Linked DNA regions of Homo sapiens: regions 2, 3, 4 and 5 are each linked to region 1. The links are contacts of gene promoters, found by promoter capture Hi-C in human tissues and cell types (Jung and others, 2019). All regions are on one chromosome and are shown on one strand. Each heading gives the region's core, a stretch centred on a gene start or on the middle of the fragment in contact. The rest is flanking DNA. Distances are from core to core; before and after follow the strand shown.

Region 1 (3,207 bases), core at 385-2,884:
CTCAAGGAACTGCTTGTTACATGTTCAGAGTACTTTCCATCCATCAACTCATGCCCATTTCAGTCTTCCAAAGTCAACAGCTCCAGCGTGCCTGGTCAGTGCTGAGCCCAGGACTCAACACGGGTGCTGCAGGTTGCTTAGGGGCACGCCAACATTTCAAGGGCTATAAACGACAGACCAAGTGTCCGCTCTGTTTAAGAGACACAAGTGGAGATAGGAAAGAACCTTTGACTTAAGTGTGGGGGTGGCAGGGGCAGGAACTGCCCCAGAGTTGGCCACCGTGGGACCCCCATTGCTAGGGGCTCTCTCCTGTCACTTAGCATCTTTCCTCCCCACCGCTGGCACGCGGCGTGAATGGCAGGGCACTCCAGCAGGACGAGAACAGAGCTCCGTCACAGGCCCCCAGCATCCCCGGAGAGAAGATAGAGCCGCCCCACGGCCTTCACAGGAGGGGGTAAGGGGGCGGAGAGGGGAGAGGATTGTTTGTTTATTTGTTTCCTGGAACACCCTGTTAAGAATCTCAGCAATTGCAGTTAGTGCCCTATCGTTTGGCAAGCAGAGCCGCTTCTCGTCGTTCCCAGCTGCACGGGATCTAATTCGCAAATACACCATCTTGCATTCAATACTTAAATGGAAAACAAGCAGCCCGGGGAGGGAGGCAAAAAGTCTGAGTCTGCATGCCCGTTTCGGAGGGATTTAGGTTTCCAGGTCGGTGGACTGGCTGCTGCTGTCCCCGGAGAGGATTTCTTTGAGCCCGAACCCTGTCTCACCTCGACTACAGAACCCACTCTGGCGGAGGTTACGAGCCGCAGTTAAAGAGAAAACGGGATTTGGTTGGGTCTTAGGCCTTGCCAGTACAAAATAGTAACAAAAATCTGTTTGAGAGCTGAGATTTTAAAAGGAGATGCTGCTTATTCTTCCCACTGGAAACCTGGTTAAAAGAAATTAAGGCCTCTCTTAAAGGTAACTAAGATTAGAGGGCTCGGTTTCCGTTTTCTGTGTTTCTGTGGGCTAAACGCCCAGGTCGGTCAGCGAGTTTGTGTGGAATGACGAATTCCTCTCCCCTGAATTCTAAAATGATAACTTTGCTTGGTGCTGCAGCTGCGAACGTCTGGCGCCAAGAGACCCAATTCTGGTCGGGGCTTTGCTGGATGGAGAAGTGGGGGTGAGTGGGTAAGGGGGAAGAGTCGTGCCTCGGTGAAAAGTCGGGAGAGCGGCGAGAAGGGAAGTAACGGCGGCTCCTCCTGGCCTCGGCCCCTTTAAGTGCTTCACTGACTCAGCTAAGCTTCCCCCTCAGGTCGCGTTTTTTATGAATGAAAAACGTCCTTACATTCATTATATAAACAAGCCTGTGCTGATTGGCCAATGGCCCCCGGTGCATAAATTATGTAAAACAGACCCCTGAGGGGGTGGAGAGAGATGCACCGCTGGCCAATGGGGGCCGGAGTTGATGGGGCGGCTTGGTTGGATTTGCCCGCAGACAGGGTAAACAAGAGGTGATGGACAGCCGCGGGAACGGCCTCTGGCCAATGGGAACAAGGCTGGGCTAGGGCCGCGGGCCAATGGCGGCGGGCGGAGCAGCGAGCCGCGGGGGGCCGGGCCAGCGCTCCAGCCTGGTTGGCAGCTGCGGCGCAGAGTCCAGCCGCTGGTGCGCGGAGCGGTTCACCGTCTTCGGAGCGGTTCGGCCCAGCCTTTCGCCCAGGCGCCCAGGCCCGCTGCGCGCGTGCGTGAGCGCGCCTGCGCCGCCGGGGCCGCTGCAAGGGGAGGAGAGAGGCCGCCTCAGGTGAGGGGGCTTTGCGGGGGCAGGGGGGAGATCGGAAGGGGCGTCCGGCCACTGGTCCGACAGGCCCAGCCGGCTAGAGTTCACGGGCTGATTCAGAATCTTCAAAGTCGGGGTGCAGTAGCTGGGGTGACCCCCCCCGGGTTGACCGCCCCCTCCCCCCGCGGCCCGGTCCGGTTTGGTTCCTGGGAGGCGTCGGGCGGGTGCGGCTAACGGTTCCGGAGCGCGGGGAGAGCGGCTTTCCACACGTCGTGGGGGAGGCGCCCCGGAGCGCGAGTGCGGGGGCTCCCGAGTGGATGGGGGATCGCGGAGTTGCGAGGCTTTCACAGTCTCTGGAGATTCGAGAGCCCCGAGGGGACTTGGAGGCTCGCGAGAAGAGACGCTTGGCGGAGCTCCGCAGTTGGGAGGAGGGGGCGGGAAGCAGTTTGAGGGGAATGTCTGAGAGGCGCTGCCCCCCAGAGCACCGGGAGGGGGTAAATGACACAGGCAAGTGCAGCCTGCGGGGGCGGGGGTCGACCAGGAACTTACGCAGGCCTTGCAAGTTTCAGGTGGTGGAAAGTGGACATCCAGTCGCCCTGCTCCCACCCAGCAGGCTGAGGGCGTCCGGCTGTGCGGCGACTCGAGAAAATCGGGGCGCACCGGAACAGCGGCCTGGGGATGGTGGGGATAACACGGGTGTGGAGGGGACAGCACCGAAAGATGCTGCAGCCTCGCAGCGGATTAGGGTTCCGGCCGCATTTTCAGAGGGTGGAGAAAACTCGGGGGGGAACCGAACTCCTGGTCGACGAGGGGGTGCCAGGGAGAGATGTTGGGGGTGGGGGGATTGGAAGCGGTTGGTAGCGCCGGGCGCCGCACCTCGTTTTTATGAATGTGGGTGACTTTATGAATGAAGCGGGTTTCTTTCGTTGGCTCGCTGCTCCCTGCGGCTTTTTTTTTTTTCTTCCCTTTTTGTGAATGAAGCATTGAGCTTTCTTCCTAAAACGCTGGGGTGAGGGGCCTGCGTCGGAGGCTGGGCGTGCGTTGGAAATGGGGGCGGGGGCGCAGCTGAAGGAGTTTTCATGAATGGGGAAGGCTGAGAATTGGGTGGAAGTGTGTCTTGTTTTGTGAATGGGGCCCAGCGCTAGAGATCCAGTTACAGCCTCTACCTGATGTGGCGGCCGCGGCTCGCTCTCCCATTCATAAAACCGGGCCCGCTGCGCGCCACAGGGGAGGGGCCTGGATCGCGCCGCTGCGCTGTGCTAAAGTTTTCCTGGGGGCGCCCGGGGCGCGGGTGGTGGGGGGGCAAAGGAAGTGGTTTAAACTCCTGGATGAACTCGAGCCTTTCCTTCAGGCTTTTAAAAAAATTATACTTGGAATACAATTTTTCTAACCCTGGAATGCCTCTTTTCCGTTCGTTTATGGCAGTTTATTTCTTTTAATTTTTTAGA
Region 2 (3,207 bases), core at 427-2,926, 430 kb before region 1:
TGTAAAGAAAGGACATATTAAAAGTGTCCCTACATTATAATAGTTGAAATGGAGTTTTATCAAGTTTTACTTGCTTTGAGTAACCCCTGAGATTTTATTTAATCTTGAAGAGAAGAATGAAGAAGGAAACAGTATGGCCAGGAGTATTTAGTGAACATACAAGTGAACCTGGGGATATGCAGAATGCACCCATCTGTAAATGAGATAGCAAAGCCCCTGTCATCTAGGAGCCTTCCCCAAAAGGACAAATTAGAATTGCTAAATTTCCCTTGTGTATACTCTATAGTGCACAGTGCATACTCACCCCAAAATATGTTTATTCATGTTGTTATCTTCCCCTCCCTTTTGTCATTTTGTCTGTTTCAAGTGAGAGACTGAAAAAAGTGGGTGTAAGTAAGGGAGGGAAACCTGACAAATGGAGAAGGAATGGGAGGCCATTTGCTGAGCTGCAAAGAGCTCTGGCCTGTGAGCTGACTGCAGCCATCAGCTCTGGATCTTGCCACCATACCATGAAGCTACCTTTCCTTATCTCCAAAACAAGGGAGTTGAGCCAAATGCTCTCTGGAGTCTCATCCAACACAAACATTCTAATTCCCCAGACACCAGCAGGAGGACATTAAAAAACTAGCTGATGACCAAGGACTACTGACACTTACTTTTAGAGGCATAATTTCTGGAAGTGACCTCAGAAATCCACTGATTTTTTGCCAAAGAAATAGGCTGTGATAAGTAAGTTAGTATCAGTCTCTTTTCTCATATCAACTGCTTGCCATGTTCTTTGGTGAGTTGGTCACAGTCTGTTCAACTAGAAAAGCAGTTCTGGCAGCAGGGTAGGAAAACAAGAAGTGTCAGGATGACTAACCACAGTTTCAGAGAAGTAGAAGATGGCTTTTGACAGATAAAAGCAGGATTATTATTTTGGAGTGTTGCATGCCTCCTGGTTCATGCCTTGGTCCAGAAAGAGATTGCTATCATTTTCTCCAGTTGCAGACACACCAATCAACTTTCTGCTTAAAAGGAATTTGACTAACAATTGATATTAGAGGTCAAAAACACTTTATATCCTTATCTATCAGTCAGTCCCAGCTCTTTTGGTAGAACATTCAGCTGTTAGGACAAGAAGCTGGTGTCTTACCTGTCACCCACACCCAGAACAGCACCTGATAATTCAGTTATCTCCCCCTACCTTTTATTGTTTTATCGCTCTGAAATGGGGGATCTCAATAAAATAAAGCAAGGGCACCCTTAAACCATTTTAACCCTATTTCCATCACAAGAATTTCTCTAAGACAAGTCTCTGAATATTCCCATATATGGAGCTCACTGTCTATTGGGATAGAAAAATAAACATAAGTATGTCCCAAATGTTACATGGGACATACTTACACTAAGAAATTGTCATTTGTCTGAAATTCAAATTTAACTGTATCCTATATTTTTATTTGCTAAATCTGACAACCCTACTTCAAGGACAAGGCAAGTTACACAGGAGTGACATGGGGCTAAGAGCAGAGAGTGGTGCAAGCTGTGAAAATGAGCACATTCCCCAATAGAAGGGCATTTAAATACTTTTTTTTTTTTTTAAATCACTACACACCAACAAAATACATCTGCATCTGAATGTGGCTTGTGGACCACCAGTTTCCAATCTTGGCTGTAGGACAGCTCTGAATATCAGAAATTGTTTTTTAGATTGAGCCAAAATCTGATCCCTGAAGCTTTCAACCTGCAATCCTAGTTTTCATCCATAGGATATAGCTCTTTAGGTATTTAAAGATGCCTCCAGTTTGCTTCCATGCTGGCATTTCTACACTGAGCAATGCCTGTTTCTTTCATCCTTTCTCTCCTCATGTGTGGGCTCCCAGACTCCTCACCATCCTGGTGCCTCTCTTCGAGCTAATGGTCATTTCTCTCTCCCCACTGTCATAGCTGTATGTAGTCTGACCAGTGCAGACTACAGCTGGAGGATTATGTTCAGTTCTTTCATCTTTTTTCTCTGATCTATGCTGTTCTTAACTAAGCTCAGCTCTCCCTGTGGCCCAGCCCTGATATGGATGACTGGCTACCTTTCCCTAAGAGCCAACTCTCCAGTCAAAGGGCTAAAGAGTTCTCTTCCTCTTTGGGTAGTTAGACAGAAATGGATTCAAATTCTGCCACTTCCATATGTTAGCTCTAAGTCACATAATCTAACATGTATATCCTCAATTTTCTGTGAAACTAACATAACACCTAATCTGTGGGCATTAAAATGAGATAATATGTGAAAAATATGTAGCATATACAGTTAATTCTCATTATTTTCTGTAATTATACTCCATAAAAATACCTCAAACACTGAATTGCAAATATTGAATTATTGCTCTTAGATAAAATACTAGGTTAAGTTCCTGTAAGCCTCTGGTCACATTTTTGTCAACTGATCAATGCATAAACTTTTTTCATATGTGTTTCTCTTTAAAGACTCTTGAATATATGTTGTGGATTCATTAACATGGAGCTCAGGACCAGCAGCACTCTAACTGCTGCCTGAAGAAAGATGATCTAACAGGTATCTCAGTAAGGCACGTCGCAGCCTTCTCATGCTTAGGAACACTAGACAGCCCTTCAGCACTACATTTGGGGATGTTTTCAACAGTGAAATTACCAACGAAGAACAGTGCAATGCGGAAAGCATGACACTAAATGGGTTGAAAGGAGACTTGTTTACAGTATGGGAGCTGAAACAAGAAGGGGGAGCATTTGTTCGACCTTAGCTGGGAATATACTCATTGGATGACTCAAATTTTTCACTGCTCTGCTCATATCCATAAATGATCACAAGAGCACCACGATTAGTGATTTTGCGATTACAATGAAATTGGAGGGAGTGGGTGAATTTGCAAGTATGAAATCTATGTTATAATGAGGGTCACCAGTTCTTTACCACCATGGTTGTCATATTAGTACTGTTTCTGAGTAGTAAAGTACTGCTATTATCAGTTTTGTGTGTGTGTGTGTGTGTGTGTGTGTGTGTGTGTGTGTGTTTTAACTTGTCTAGCTTTTTAAATCCCTGTTTCTACCCCCTAGTTGTTTTCAGAAAAGCATTTCTGCATTTTTGGCAGATGCCTCATAATTGGGAAGAAATATATCAGAATGGTCCAACCCATCCTACTACCTTGAAAAAGAGCCATATTTTTGTTATCACGGGAGTTCAGCCTTTTCTTAGCT
Region 3 (3,207 bases), core at 244-2,743, 380 kb before region 1:
TTAATTCTTATATGGCCCTTAGTTTTTCCAGGGCTTGTAATTTATGTTTCACATTTGCGTGCTTTTCTGCAGTGTTATTTCCCCCCAAATGTTCCATCATCCCTAACTTATTCCAATCTACTGAATTTTCTCTAAGCTTTACCACATCACTTTCATGTATTTTTTCCCCAGAGACTGTTTCTGGTTTAAAGTTCTTTCTCATAGTATCATGTTCTTGTTTTATGATGCAATATCATTTCTTTTTTCCTTTTTATTTTTTTTTTCTTGAGAGAGTCTTGTTCTGTTGCCCAGGCTGGAGTGCAGTGGCATGATCTCGCCTCACTGCAACCTCTGCCTTCTGGGTTCAAGTGATTCTCCTGCCTCAGCCTCCCGAGTAGCATGCCACCACACCCGGCTAATTTTTTTGTATTTTTAGTAGAGACAGGGTTTCACCATATTGGCCAGGCTGGTCTTGAACTCCTGACCCTGTGATCTGCCCACCTCGTCCTCCCAAAGTGCTGGGATTACAGGCATGAGCCACTGTGCCCGGCCGCAATATCATTTCTAATGTTCCCTATATTGTCTGTTTCCCCCCACATTCCTTTTTCTTTTCTGGATATTTTGTCTCTCCTATGTTGGAAGCTTTCCTCATATGTCATATCCTTGGCTATCTATTCATGTTAAGAGTGAGGCACTAAAAGTCTTGTAGGAAGCTCTGCAGTGTGTGCATAGAGCTGTTAGCTGATTGGCTTTTCTTTAGGGTTTTCAAACCCTGAGCCATCATTTTCACAGGGACAAACTCAAGTATCAGCTTCCTGGCTATGTGGGATGAGGAGGGGACCTGGGATCCCAACACACTCTATGCAGACTTTCAACCAGTGACTCTTGTTTTCAGACCAACGCCTCATCCCTTTTCTCAGCAGAGCCTCCAAATCCCAAACCTCTCATGATTTCTCTGGGTTCCTCTTCATGCCAAATTTTTTATGACAGACCCTTAAGTTATACTTTGCTCCTGTCCACTGAGTCAGCAACCACTTCTTCGTTTGCTATTTGTCCTCCAAAAACTCATCTAAATGTCTTGTCTGCTGTTGCTCTCCTGTTCTTCTTGTCCTTGTGCCCATTTTTATTCTTTACTATCATTTTGGCAAGGTTTTGGTAGGGCAGAGAAAGAACAACTGTAGTCAATCAGCTTTTTAAAACTGAAACCTATTATATGAGTTCTAAAACATTGAGCCTCCCAAAAGAAAGGAAGTAGAGTCTCGATTCCTTTCTTCTAGAAATCTCCTTGCCACCTACAGAAACTTGCAGACTTATTTCTTTTTTCTTTTCTTTTTGTTTTTTGTTTTGAGACGGAGTCTCACTCTGTCACCCAGGCTGGAGTGCAGTGGCACGATCTCAGCTCACTGCAAGCTCCACCTCCCAGGTTCACGCCATTCTCCTGCCTCAGCCTCCCGAGTAGTTGGGACTACAGGTGCCCGCCACCATGCCCGGCTAATTTTTTTGTATTTTTAGTAGAGACGGGGTTTCACAGTGTTAGCCAGGCTAGTCTCAAATTCCTGACCTCAAGTGATCCACCTGCCTCGGCCTCCCAAAGTGCTGGGATTACAGGCGTGAGCCATCATGCTTAGCCACAATCAAACAAATTTTAAGTAAAATCTGAAAAACTGGGAAGAAAAAAAATTAAAAGAGGCATTTTGAGCAAAGTGCAGGAGAAGGAGGAAACAAATGTAATAACTGCCTCCCTCCTGCCAACTGGTTGACTATAGAAACTTTGCACCTTATAAAATGTGGTTTCACATCATGCAAGGGCCCAGCTGGAGCAGTAGGTGAGAGAGCCACAGGGAATGAGTCTGAGGAACAACAAATGGTACAAACCTTTGATGAGGCTGGTGAGGAAGGCAGCAGGGGGGCGACAAAGCCCCAGGGAGAATGATTTGGAGGAATCTAAGAGATCATATTTCCCAACACTCTGTGCCTAAAGGGCCTGCCTGTAAGTCATACAACCAGTTAGTACAAAGTCTGGGAAAAGAGGAGTCCCAGGGCTCCCCACGGCTCTTCCTCCTAACCCCGCAAATGGGAGTGACAGATCTGGAGAAAGTATTTAATTCCACAAAGCAGGCACAGCCCTGTGATCTGCGTTAATCTGATTTTATCCACCCTATTCTGGCTCCTCCTGCAGGGGATGGAATCTCAAGGGAAACTCAGGCTTCAATGAGCTGGGCTACCTCTCATTCCAATGACCTGCTGCCTTGGCATCTCCAGAGGCCAGTGGCAAAGAGTGCCCCTCCAGCCTGACGTGTTGGGTCCAGAGAAAAGAGTGGGGGATTATAGCTAAACCACTTTACCAGGATTCTTGCAGAAACTGAGGCCCAAGGTTGAGGCCTAGTTGAGAAGAGAGCTCAGAGGCACTTCACTGAGGTCTGAATAAGGAGAGAGTTTTGAGAGTTTTTGTCCATCCTTCCTCTTGTGCAAGGAAAGAACATCTTTCTTTCCTCTGAACAATATAAGTCTGTTGCTTGTTCAGTTGCCTTTATTCATTAAGGACTATCTGAAGCATGTGTAGAGATTAGATAGGAGAGAATATTTAATGAGGGAAATTTCTATGAAAATAAAAAGCAGTACAAAGATGAGTGGTTGGAGCAGACAATAAACCCAGTTTCTGAGTCCAGAGGGCAGCCAAGATTGCTACACGTTAGACTCGAGACATCTTTAGACGGTGGAGTGAGGACGGCAGTGGCAAGCTGACAGGTTTCCTGGTTTGCAGTGTGAATGTCTTTGGTGATGGCATAGACATGAGGGCCACAGTCATGGTTATTTCTCAGTGTAGATGGTAGAAGATGTGGATGAAAGAATGTCAAATATGCATGACAGCAGAATCCAGTTACAGGTGAATAACAAAACCTCCAAGGCAATAAACAAGACCAGAATCTGATAACCCACAAGGGTGTGCTATAGTTTTTCACTGCAACACAAAACGTTCTCTATGATCAGCCCCATTTCTGATTAAAGATAACCAAACTAAGATTATTCTTGCTTGTGAAATAAGTCAAATCTTATTAGATTTGGCCTGATTATTTAGATAAGTGCAATGAGAATGGTAACTGATCACACAGACCTTTTGAAGTTTTCTTTGCTGGACATCTCCATGACGAATCTCAGATAAGACTTTTAAAATGCTTCTCAAGACCAGACAGCCAAGCCAGGAACTCACCACCAGATTTTACTGGC
Region 4 (3,207 bases), core at 182-2,681, 320 kb before region 1:
TGAGTTCCGAGGATACACAGGCATTTGCTAAATTGGGGCCTTTGGTGGCATTTACTCTTTAAAGGAATTATTTGCTCTTTCTGCATTTTTATACTACCCCATCTGGAACTTTTCCCTTAACCTCCCTTATAAGTCCCTCAGTTGAGTTAAATTCTCTCTTACTTTGGTAAAAGCACCATTCACACTGAGGTGCGTAAGACGCAGGAGTTCAGGACCTTGGCAGTCTGAAAATACACTTGTGGTTTGGATTAATATTCTCTTTTTCTGTTTTTAATCCTCTTGCATATTTACGTAAGACTTTTCCCCTCTGGGGTTCCTGTTGCTTCTTAGCTGTGATCTGTTCCTCCCAGCTTCTCCTAGAGGCAGTAAATGGGTATTGCCATGCCATTCAGGACCAAGGAGGATCCTTCTTCATGTAGTGAGTCCAGGAGGCTTCAGCACTAACAGCCCCTCACTCCCCATCCCCAGGCAACCTTGAGCTAGTCTCTTCTTCCATCTCTACCCAACTTCCTTGCCATCCTGCACTAAGTTACTTTAATAACTCTCTGGCTTAGTCAGCAGTGTCGCTTACGACCATTGCCTGAGAACAGATAGGATACTTTCACAATCAGTGTAGTCCAGGCACCAATCAGTCAGAATGAACATTCTAGAGCTGCAGCAGTGACCTTCGGGGCCAGGCATTCACCCTGGCGGGAGTGGGCAGAGGTCTGGGGAGTCCCAGTTGAGGAGCTGGGGCAAATGGGATAGCTGGTAGCATTCCGGTGGTTCAGATAGCAGTTCTTTTCCAAGGAATACAGAAATACTTAATCATTTTTAACAACTGGGGCAGTTTTGGCTGTGTGTATTGCCCTACCAAAGAATAAAGCTTGGGATTATTATTAGATATCCCTTGAGTGAGGACAAAGGTAATTTACTCAATTCGTTTGCTGCCTTTATGCAGATTGTGAGCAAGTTGGGAGTCTTGCATAAATTTTCCTTCAAAGAGGTTGAGAGCAGCCTTTCTCTTCTCTCTGAAGTTCGCCCTAAAAGTCATGCCTATTCTCCTTGTGTCTTCTTTAGTTGACCCCAGGTTGCACCTGGTTGTATCATGCCCCCCTCCCCCAACCCCCTGTCTCTTCCTTCTCTTTTCTAGGAGTTCAAGCAGCTTACCGAGGCTTAAAATAGACAGTAATAGCAGCTCTCAGTTTGTTATTTTGTATGTACTCCGTATCCTTAACACTTGTCAAGGATAAAAACACACTCAAGAAACACACTTTGCTTTCAGTAACTTCATTTTTCAGAGAAAAAAAAGTAGACGGAGTCAGCTCTCAAGACAGCTGTAGCTGTATATGCAGGTATAGCACTACAGAAAACCAGCCAAGCAGAACCACAGAGGCGTGACCCACCAAAGACTGAGCTCTGCCTCCTCCTGCGCAGCCATGGCCACCACTGACCGAGCACTGCCCAACACCTGATCTTTGTTTGTTTTGAGATGGAGTTTCGCTCTTGTTGCCCAGGCTGGAGTGCAGTGGCGCGATCTCGGCTCACCGCATCCTGGGTTCAAGCGATTCCCCTGCCTCAGCCTCCCGAATAGTTGGGACTACAGGCTCGTGCCACCACACCCGGCTAATTTTTTTTTTTTTTTTTTTTTTTTGTATTTTTAGTAGAGGCGAGGTTTCACCATGTTGGCCAGGCTTGTCTTGAACTCCTGACCTCAGGTGATCCACCCACCTCGGCCTCCCAGAGTGCTGGGATTACAGGCATGAGCCACCACGCCCGGCCCAACCACCGGATATTTATGCCCGTCTGGGACCCTCAGAGCTTTCTCAAAGGGATTCCCAAAATAACTCATTTTAACACTTGGTTTTTGGCCACTCATTCCTTAAGCCTAATTCCGCTAATCACAGTTACTTCACAAGAACCTAAATATGCACTGGGTTACCTCTGTTGTACGTTTCAAGTGATCATGCCACCAAACTTTGCATCCAGTGTCTTCTGTTGTTCGTGTGGTCATATCAGTCTAATTTTACTTTTATTGTTAGTTGCCTGACGTAGGACGTTATTTTAGATTCTGCGTGAGATTGTAACGTTCACTTATATGCTTGTTGTAACTATCTAAATATTTCAGTGGAGTAAAAAGGCTGATTGGCACAGGAATGTCCAGCTGATGAACAGGTCATTTAGGATTTCCTTTCTCTGGACAGACAGTCAGAACCACTGTTGGAAGGGGAGGCACCACCTTGGGAGCTGATTGTTCTTTTTGTCAGATGGTTGGCCTGGGAAAAGTAAATCTGCAGAAAGCTGTTTCCTCCTAATGTAAATTCTAAACTTGACATTAGATAGCTGCTCCAACAGTATGAGATTCCCCAGAACTCAGCATAAAACTTACTACCTTTTATGATCTGTTGAATGTGAAAGAAAATTTGTTTGGCTATTGGTTTCGAGACCAAGATGACAAACAGCCCTCCCATGATATTACCCTGAAAACATTTGATTCCTTTCAGTCAGTGGATAATCGAACCCAAAAGGTTATTAGCTAATTCTTATAGAAAATTGTTCAAGTTATCATTCTTGGTCTCTTCTTGAGGTAATGAAATTCATAGCTGTAGAAAGTATTGTGTTTTTAAGCTTCACTGGTCTTTCTTTATTTTCTGGCATTTTGCAAACATCAGTTTGTTCTCTTCTGAAGGTTAACACTTTTATAGCTGATCATATTCCATGTCAAGCCTTTCAATTTCTAGACTGGGCCCATTTTTTTAAACCCTGGAATCATGTGGCAGCATTTCTACCCTCTGACATAAATCCTTTAACTCAATTGTGTCTTCCTTAACATTCAGCAGCCAGGATTTGGCTCACAGCTTCCTAGTCTGGAGGCCCCCATGGTTTTTATAATGAGAGGATAGTGTTTCTGATTCATATTTCATTCAAAGTAACCCACATCCCATTAGGGGTAATTGATGTTGCCCAGCCTGTTTTACTGTTTTTGGCTATCACACTCTCTAGAGTCTAGAGGCAACATCTTTTGTGAATATGGTGACTCTCAAGTCACTGCCCTTTGTCTTAACTGGTCCTTTAGTTGCCTATCACCCTATAAACATAATTTGGTTTACCTAAAACACTCAGCTTTATAAGATTATACAAGAGCTTGTTCCCACTGAATTGACATTCACAAACTAGAGATATTTAGTATCAGTTTTATTTGTTTCTGCATGACAAAATATTCTGAGG
Region 5 (3,207 bases), core at 193-2,692, 260 kb before region 1:
CTAAAACTAGACTGATCTTTTCAAAAGTTTTGCGGGCTGGGCAGGCTTTGAAGCAAATGGTCATTTAGGGAGTTAGAACCTTTTCCCCTCTGTGGCTCTTCCCAGCGTTTCCTGTGAAAAGCTTCCCCTCCAGGGACAACAGTGAAGAGTTCCACGGCGGTGTCTCTTGACCAGACATAGCAGAAAACAGACCTGGAGTAATGTAGTGAACCCAAATTAGCCTTTTTACAAGCTCATTAAAGCATAAAGTTTAACATCCTTTGCCCAAAATATAACAGAAAGAAGAAAGCCTCCTTTTTTCTCCCTACTCACTCACGCCTCCTTCCCCTCTTTCCACCATCTGTCTCCGGATAGGCAAGCATCAAAGCAGGATCTTGGATGGGTAGGTGTCTCCTTCACTGTCAAGTAAACACAATCAAAGTTCCTGGGAAATCCACTGTGGGCAACTCCAGTGACACTGTAGAATTCCAGGCAGGGGGCAGATGTGCACTCTGGTAGTCCTGAAGTCCACCAGCATCTTTCATGTTAAAATATTACTATATTTTAATGTGGTGTATAAAGAGTTGCTGACCTGAATTGCTGTTTCTTAGGAAGCAGACACATTAGCAAGTAGTATAATAACTAGGCTTTAAAAAATAGACTACCTTAAGGGAACAGACTATCTTCAATAACTGTATTTTACATTTTTGCATAGCACTTCTAAAACACTTTCAAATAAGCTTCTTCATTTAATCATTACCTTGAGATGCATGTATTACTATCCCCACTTTGCAGAAGAGGAAATTGGAGCTTAGAGACTCAGATTAGCTCTTTTGACTCCATCTAATTCTAAATTATCTATTTATTATTCTGAACCCCATGGCTTCTCCTTTGTGCTTTCCTTCAAGCTTATCAGTTGATATTGTGAGAATTTTCCCAGCTTGCCTTGTGGAGGGCCCCACCCAGGCAAGGGGGCGGTACTTAAAAGTTGTTCAGTTGCTAGTACTTAACAGAGTATCAGTGCCAGAAAGGGTTGTAGGGACCATTTCCAGCCTCCTTATTTTCTAAGAAAACTAAAATGAGGGAATCTCCTGCCTACATTCCCAGGGCTGGATCCCAAATCCCATTCATGGCAAAACTGTGACCAGGAGCTCCTGGTTCTCCTGTTTCCAACCCACAGTCTCACTCCACCACAGCCTTCACAGTCAAAACCAAGAGGAAAGTTAAGGTTCGGACTTGGCTAGTATCTGTTCCCATCCTGTCATTGCTTGATAACATGGAAAGATTCCATTAATTATGAGATCATAAAATATTAGGTGGAAGACAGCTTGGAGATAATCTGGTATAATCCTTTGTGTTCTGTACATGGGAAAAGTGAGGCCTAAGAAGGCGAGCAGAACCCCCCCGGCCCACCTTGCGGTTGGTGACCCTGAACTCAGCTGTGCTCCAACTGTCAAGTGCTGTTCGCTCAGCTTGTCAGAGACAGTGGGACTAAAAATTTCCAGACACAGGTACCTGACTCAGCCCTCGCTTTGCCTTGGCAGTGGAGATCAGGCATCAGCTGCTGGCTTGGATGATGTGTTCCCAGAGCAACATGGTGAGTGTGAGCTGCCAACATTGAAGTCTCAGGGAATGTAAAGTGTTGAACCAGTTAAACATCCAAAAATGCCCCGTCTCTCAGAAACAAGGGTGACTCATCACAGCGCTTGGGCTACAATTGGGAATGGCATTAGGGTGGCTGTGGCGGCTAAAAATCCATGCTTAGAAGCCCCCAGCTTCGTTTCCTCTGGCTTTTTGTTCGCAGGTCTTTTCTCTGGCTGAGAACCAACATACACATGCTCCACTGCCAAACCCAGCCCTCCTCCTCCATGAAGCCTGCCTTGACTCTTTCAGCCCAGAGGAGGTCTCCTTTCTCAAGCCCTGAGAATCTGCCCTGTGCAATTTGGCACTTGATTCCATACTGTCGTTCACTGTTTCTTAACCAGTGGAGCGTTTGTTTTATAACTGACATGGATTGCAAAATCTTTGAGGAGAGGCACTAAGCTTCCTCCTCTGTACCCTACAGTAAGTCTCAGGGTGTCACCACAGAGCAGAGACATGCTCAGACTCACAGATAGTCCTGACCTCAAGACTCTTTCTGCTTTACCTTATGTTTGCACATACAGCAAATGCCCAATAAATCCTCACTTGTTTCACCGTAGCTTCAGCCTTTTCAAATAAAGAGCTCAGTTGCAGGGCCTCTGTCAGCCCATGCAAATTAGAGAAAAGGCATCCCTCCCTCCAGGCAGACATAACCCTAACAGGTTGTGTGGCTGGGCAAGTGGGGCATGAGTTGGATTTCAGCCCCTTAGCTGGGTGCCCTCTGCAGCAAGCCACATAAGCCACCTGGGCTCTGGCTCTTCGTGAGAGCAGCAACAAGGACTCCCTCCCCACAGTGCTCCATTCTGATGGGGAAGGCCTACCTTGGGAAAGCTGGCATCAGATACTTCCCAGCTTGCTTCCCAGCTCATTTCCCATCAAAAACAAACAACAAAAAATCCACACCTGCCATAGCTCCTCACTGTGGAACCCAAGTCTATGCTCCCAGAAGAGCATTTGGAGACTCCCACAATACTGTCCCAGCCTTCTTTTCTTGTGCTGGGAAGACCCAGAACTCACCATGAATTGTCCTACGTCTCTGCTTTTGCTTTCTCCCAGCCTAGATTGCCCTTGTCCTGTTGATCTTTAAGTGAGATCTCTATTCCCCTTTAAAATCCGATCGCAAACCCTACCTCCTCCATGATGCCTCCATTAGCACTAATTGTTCTTGGTGCTTCTTCCCGCCCCATCCCTCTTTGCCTTCCACATTGCTTCAGCCTCTACTACCACCCTTTTCCTCCATGTTATTAGCATGTAACTCAGTCCACACAGCCTTCTCTGAACTCCTTCTGCAGCAACTCAGATGCATCATTTGGCTCCATCCTGATCCTAAAGGAATCCATTTGCAAGCAAACCGATGAACAATATTGACTTTACAAATGATTTCTTTCATAGGACCGGGGGCTTTCATAGCCCACCCCACAGCAAACTACTTACCAATCTTTGCAAGCATCTCCCCTGTCCAAATCCCTGGACAACTTGGCAACCCTGTTGCCTGTTCTCAGGCAAGTTGCTTGGCAACCCTGTCCTCAGAGCTCCTCCCCTCTCGTTACCCTTCCCCAATGTGCTCTCAACGAAGCTAAGGCTCCA

Evidence for each region. Contacts are between HindIII fragments. The study calls those that stand out against the background at their distance.
Region 2: a contact is called between a fragment that was not itself captured here and the fragment with the promoter of ETV5 in region 1, in 3 of the 25 tissues and cell types used here (H1 embryonic stem cells, lymphoblastoid cells and spleen).
Region 3: a fragment that was not itself captured here is called in contact with the fragment with the promoter of ETV5 in region 1 in 1 of the 25 tissues and cell types used here (neural progenitor cells).
Region 4: a fragment that was not itself captured here is called in contact with the fragment with the promoter of ETV5 in region 1 in 2 of the 25 tissues and cell types used here (lymphoblastoid cells and small bowel).
Region 5: a contact is called between a fragment that was not itself captured here and the fragment with the promoter of ETV5 in region 1, in 3 of the 25 tissues and cell types used here (hippocampus, mesenchymal stem cells and spleen).

What each region holds. Positions count from the first base shown.
Region 1 is chr3:186,107,516-186,110,722 of GRCh38, reverse strand. It overlaps ETV5 (ETS variant transcription factor 5), which reads left to right and starts at 1,634. Exons shown (of 13, transcript NM_004454.3): 1 at 1,634-1,783. RefSeq lists silencers at 1,322-1,951, 1,982-2,081 and enhancers at 1,115-2,093, 2,852-2,911. The HindIII fragment of the contact is 3,753 bases long and covers 1-2,964 here.
Region 2 is chr3:186,534,728-186,537,934 of GRCh38, reverse strand. No RefSeq gene overlaps it. Among named protein-coding and RNA genes, the nearest start is that of CRYGS, 8.0 kb to the left of the region's middle. The HindIII fragment of the contact is 5,360 bases long and covers 1-3,207 here.
Region 3 is chr3:186,486,706-186,489,912 of GRCh38, reverse strand. All of the region lies in intron 2 of LINC02052 (long intergenic non-protein coding RNA 2052), which reads left to right. Among named protein-coding and RNA genes, the nearest start is that of LINC02052, 5.4 kb to the left of the region's middle. The HindIII fragment of the contact is 3,693 bases long and covers 1-3,207 here.
Region 4 is chr3:186,423,276-186,426,482 of GRCh38, reverse strand. No RefSeq gene overlaps it. Among named protein-coding and RNA genes, the nearest start is that of LINC02020, 15 kb to the left of the region's middle. RefSeq lists a silencer at 1,464-1,553. The HindIII fragment of the contact is 6,433 bases long and covers 1-3,207 here.
Region 5 is chr3:186,364,138-186,367,344 of GRCh38, reverse strand. No RefSeq gene overlaps it. Among named protein-coding and RNA genes, the nearest start is that of DGKG, 3.5 kb to the right of the region's middle. The HindIII fragment of the contact is 3,187 bases long and covers 1-3,035 here.